Regions from separate parts of the Homo sapiens genome. Here region 1 is linked to region 2. Evidence: promoter capture Hi-C in human tissues and cell types (Jung and others, 2019). All regions are on one chromosome and are shown on one strand. The core of a region is centred on a gene start or on the middle of the fragment in contact, and the rest is flanking DNA. Distances in the headings are between cores, read along the strand shown.

Region 1 (2,700 bases), core at 132-2,631, 36 kb before region 2:
TGGTGAATGGACGGGTGAGCCGACGGGTGCGTGAACGATACGGTGCTTGGTGAGTGGACGGGTGAGCCGACGGGTGCGTGAACCATACGGTGCTTGTGAGTGGACGGGTGAGCCGACGGGTGCGTGAACAATACGGTGCTTGTGAGTGGACGGGTGAGCCGACGGGTGCGTGAACGATACGGTGCTTGTGAGTGGACGGGTGAGCCGACGGGTGCGTGAACGATACGGTGCTTGTGAGTGGACGGGTGAGCCGACGGGTGCGTGAACGATACGGTGCTTGTGAGTGGACGGGTGAGCCGACAGGTGCGTGAACCATACGGTGCTTGTGAGTGGACGGGTGAGCCGACGGGTGCATGAATGAATATGGGAGAACACAGGGTGGCCGTCGTCATGGGGCTGGGTGAGGCTCGTCTCAGGGTAAGCAGCTTCACCAGGGAGGGTTGTGGTCTTGCTCAGTCCTGGAGGTGGCTGGTGTCTGCCCCACAGCTGCTGGCCATGAGGACATGCTCGGCCCGGGCACATCCCCTCCACACCCTCAGTTCCTAGGCATGACGCTGCGTTTTGATGAATGTGAGCTGAAATATGCTGTTTTGAGTAGATCAGACACAGTCAGTGTTTCCACTGCACAGCAGCTCGGGAAATGAGGGAAAAGGCGAAGACCAGGACAGTGAAAGGCTGAGGAAGTCAGGGAGGGTGGGGCCGATGGGACTTCAGAGGCCAGCAGGGATGTGGGCTGGGCCTGGTGAAACATAGGGCTGAGGCTTGGGCAGCGCCCACAGGGAGGACCAGGGAGGGGGCCGCACCCGCCTTCTGCGCCTCTCAGCTAGGGCTTTTCCTGCAGAGTAATGTCAGCGAGAACGTGCTATGAACATGCAGACACCCAAAGCAGGGAGTGGTGCTTTCCCAGGATCTGCAGGCAGAATATTCGGGTCCGGGGCAGCTGCTGGGTGGGCTCCAGACACACCCTGCTGGGCTCTGGGCAGGGCTGCTGCCTGGCCCTGGGAAGGGCTGGTGGTCGGCAGGCCCTGGGACCCTTGGGGCCGGCACTGTGCTGTTAAACATCCAGGACCCTCCACAATCGAACAAGGACTGGAGGCTACATCAGAAAGCGTGTGTTTCATCAACATAAATCCAGGTAGAACTCGTATTTGGCTCCATCCACGGCCCTCCCATTGCAGGCCGACGCCAGCCCAGCCCCGGAACTGATCTCATCTTGCAGGAGTTTCTGAAAGAGCTGGAGATGCTTCTACCCCTCCTAGGAATACTACAGGTTTCTAAACATAGAGGAAATGCACCAGCACGTTTTCCTTTAAGCTTCTGAAACCCAGATATCAAAAACAAATAAGTTAACGGGTAATTATTTTCTTTACTCGACCCAAGGATTTATATAGAAAGTTTATATTAAGATGGAATTTCATCTACAAAAGTTTGATGTGCCTAGATTTTATTTTATTTTATTTATTTTATGACAGAGTTTTGCTCTTGTTGTCCAGGCTGGAGTGCAATGGCAAGATCTCGGCTCACTGCAACCTCAGTCTCCTGGGCTCAAGTGATTCTCCTGCCTCAGCCTCCTGAGTAGCTGGGATTACAGGCACCCATGACCACGCCCAGCTATTTTTTTGTTTGCTTATTTATTTATTGAGATGGAGTTTCCATCTTGTAGCTCAGGCTGCAGTGCAATGGCATGATCTCAGCTCACCACAACCTCTGCTTCCCAGATTCAAGCGATTCTCCTGCCTCAGCCTCCCAAGCTAGGATTACAGGAATGCACCACCACGCCTGACTAACTTTGTATTTTTAGTAGAGACAGGATTTCTCCATGTTGGTCAGGCTGGTCTCAAACTCCCAACCTCAGGTGATCTGCCTGCCTTGGCCTCCCAAAGTGCTGGGATTACAGGCGTGAGCCACCATGACCGGCTATTTTTAATATTTGTTCGTAGATGTGGTTTCACCATATTGGCAGGCTAGTCTCGAACTCCTGACCTCAGGTGATCCACCCGCTTCAGCCTCCAAAAGTGCTGGGATTACAGGTGTGAGCCACTGCGCCCGCCTGCCTAGATATTAAATAACGTAAACACTCAACACAGATTGGACCCCCTCCTAGATTGATGCAGGATGTCTGCTTTAGTGAAGCATGGCCTTCGTGGGTCTGAGAACAGCCAGACGGCCACCCTGAGCTTCGTCTGGAGTGACTGGACCGGGCAGCTGAACTGACTTGCTGCAGCCGATTGCACAGGGTGGGTTTGTGGCAGGAACCTGGACACACTGATCCGAGAGAATGGGAGATCAGAGAGCACTGTGGGGTGTTGGGGGTCCAGAGGGACGGAGGCTCTGTCTCCCACCACCGCATCCCCAGAGCTGAATACCAGTGTCCAACACATAGTAGGTGCTCACTAAACATGTACTGAACGTGTGGACAAATTCAGGGGAGAATGGATACACAGAGCACTTGTGTGTGAAGCAAAAGCCCAGGATTCCACGTTCTGTCTGTTACGTCCTGGCCACGTGACCATCTCTCCACACAGTGGTACCCCTGACACGTACTGTATCCATGTCACGTGATGCTGGGCATGGTGATGATGGCGTGACCTTTTCCCACACAGTGAAACCCCTGACACGTACTGTATCCCTGTCACATGACGCCGGGCGTGGTGATGATGGCGTGACCTTTTCCCACACAGTGATACCCCTGACACGTAC
Region 2 (2,700 bases), core at 127-2,626:
GTGGAGGCCGCAAGGCTGCCGTGCAGGTGGGTCCCGGCTGGTGGGGGCTCCGGTCGAAGCGGGGTGGGGGGGTGGTGGGGGGTAGGGGTAGGGGGGTGAGGTGGGGGACCTGTGTTCCTGCGGCCCACTCTGAAAGGGGAGTGAGTGCAGCTGGGCCTCCGGGAGCCAGCGCTGGCCAATGTCCCGTGGAGGACGGGGAGGCGAGGAGGTCTTTAGGAAGCTCTGGGCCTAAGGGAGGGGCCGGGCTGGGAAGAGGGGGTACAAGGATGAAAAGGAGGCCAGGTCGTCGGGGCTTTGTGCAACAGACTGGGGAGGATGTGTGGAGACAGAGGAAGGTGATGATGAAGACAACGGGGGCGGTTCTGAGAAGCAGAACTTCCAGTGACTAAGAGTCACTGGAAGCAGCTGGCTTCATTTAGGGTTTGTGGCGTTTGGGGTGTCTAGGGGCTTCCAGGGAAGTTTGCTCAGTGGACGGTTGGAGATGCGAGGGCCTCCCCAGATGGTCAGGACTAGAGGCACAGACGGGGCTTCAGCCTCGCCGAGGTGGCACTGAGGCTGGGAGCTGATGGCCCCACAAGGAGAAGGACGGTGGGAACCCTGGGGCCTGCAGCCTGTTCCGGGAGGGCTGGAGCCAGGCTTTTCGGGCCCACCTGGCATTTGGAGATTAGGTGACCCAACCTTGTCTTCCCATCCCCTTTTCACAGATGGGGACACTGACCCTCCAGGCAAAGGCTCAGAGTCGCTCAAGGTCATCTGCTGGTCGTTGCATTCGAAACTTCCAGCCTAGCGCTCCGTCTCCGCCTCTTAAAATGTTCATTAACAAAAAACCAGCCCTCCAAGACCCGGGGCACTGCGAGTTTTCGCGCAGACGTCAAGCTGCGGCTCCAGGACGTGATTTTCGCAGGGAGCCGGGTGGACCAGGCTCTGGGGCCGGGCCCGCAGGCTCCGCTGGACGCGCAGAGCCCAGGACAGACAAGACCGCCCCGCCCCGCCCCGCCCCGCGGGCCCCGAGCCCCCAACCCGCCCCCGAGCGCGCCCCCGGGAGCGCGCGCTTCGCCGACGCGGCCGCGCGCCCCCCCGCGCGCTCCCGCTCCTGCGCGTCCTCGCGCCCCGCGCGCGCGCGCCCTGCCCCCGCGGCCCCGTGACGCGCGCGCGCAGAGACGCTCCCGCCGGGCCGGGGCCGAGAGCAGCAGGGCCGGGTCCGGGTCCGCAGCGCCTGCGGGGAGGGGCCGAGCGCGCGCGGGGCGGGCCGGGGACCGTGGGGCGCGGGGGCGCGCGAGGCGGCCGTGGCGGGGCCGCGCTGAGGAGGCGCCGAGGGGAGGGAGGTCCCTGCGCGCCCGCCGCCCGCCTCCCGCGCCCGCGCCGCCGCCTCCTCCTCGGTGCGGTTCCGCCGGGCGCGAGGAGCCGCCGAGACCTCCGCCTGCGAACAAAGAGGAGGCCGTGCGGGGCGCGGCGCCCGCGGAGCATGGCGGACCGCAGCCTGGAGGGCATGGCGCTGCCCCTGGAGGTGCGGGCGCGCCTGGCCGAGCTGGAGCTGGAGCTGTCGGAAGGTAACCGGGCCCCCGCCCCGGGCCGGGCCGCGCTGTCACCGGGGAGGGCCGCGCGCGGAGGGCTGGGGGCGCGGGGCCTGCGGCGGGGCGGGGGCCGGGCCCGGAGGGGGAGGTGCGACCCCAGCCCGGAGCGTGCGCGTCCCCCGGACCCCCAGACCCCGCGCCCTAGGGACGTTTGTGAGGCCGCGATCCCCCGCGCTCTGGGGACGTTTGTGGGGCCGCGATTCCCCGCGCCCTGGGGGTGTCTGTGGGGCCTGGGATCCCCTCGCGCTCTGGGGGTGTTTGTGGGGCCGCGATCCCCCGCGCCCTGGGATGTTTGTGGGGCCGCGATCCCCCCGCGCCCTGGGGGTGTCTGTGGGGCCTGGGCGCCGCGCGGGGACGCAGGATGCAGCGGGCCCGGCGGGATCGGCCTTCCCGTGCGCTCTGCGCTGGAGCCGCGGCGTCCTTGGTGCAGCAGCGCGGTGCGCGCCACCTCCTCGCTGGCGGGTTCGGCCTGGAACGCCCGGCCAGATTTCAATGCGAAACTTGTCGTTGGACCCCGGGTTCGATCTCTGGTGGCTCAGGCCGTGCAGCGGTCCTGGCGCGGCCCGGGGGATCCCACCCCCATTGTTCGCGGGCGCTGCGCGGGGAGGGCTGGGCGGAATCGTCAACCTCCCCCCGGGCCGGGCTCCGGCCTTGCCGTCCTGGTCCTCTCGTAGGAGGGTTTGTGGCAGATCAGCCACCGCGGTCTTATGGAGGGTTGTGTACGCCTCTTATTTGCTCTTCATGGCGGAGATCATGTGCTCAACTGTCATAAGTTTCAGATCGGGCTTTGCCAGGTCTTTTCCCCAAAACCACTGAAGTTCCCAAATCTGAAATGTTTGATGTGCATTTAGCCGTCTCTGGGCTCATCCTGGTCAGGCCATTCCTGTAACGTGGGGTGGGGTGGGGGTGGGCCGGCGCGTCTCACATTTATATTTGGAGCAGTTTAGCATGGTGAACTTTTTTTGGGTAACGGTTTTGTGAGGGCCGGCAGCCAGAAAGTAAACTCATTCGTGCCAATTTTCACCGGCAGGGAGGAGCTGGTGTTGACTTTATGTTTTCCTTTTTAACACTTTCAGGGCAAAGAAGGGAGTGAGCAGGGGCCATGGTGTGCAGCCAACTGCCTTTC

What was found. The method cuts DNA at HindIII sites, captures the fragments that hold promoters and counts their contacts. A contact is called where the count stands out against the background at its distance.
Region 1: a contact is called between a fragment that was not itself captured here and the fragment with the promoter of DIP2C in region 2, in 2 of the 25 tissues and cell types used here (H1 embryonic stem cells and bladder).

What each region holds. Positions count from the first base shown.
Region 1 is chr10:724,002-726,701 of GRCh38, reverse strand. No RefSeq gene overlaps it. Among named protein-coding and RNA genes, the nearest start is that of DIP2C, 36 kb to the right of the region's middle. RefSeq lists an enhancer at 397-897. The HindIII fragment of the contact is 7,237 bases long and covers 1-2,700 here.
Region 2 is chr10:688,344-691,043 of GRCh38, reverse strand. It overlaps DIP2C (disco interacting protein 2 homolog C), which reads left to right and starts at 1,376. Exons shown (of 37, transcript NM_014974.3): 1 at 1,376-1,550. The coding sequence starts at 1,466. RefSeq lists an enhancer at 66-1,001. The HindIII fragment of the contact is 17,538 bases long and covers 1-2,700 here.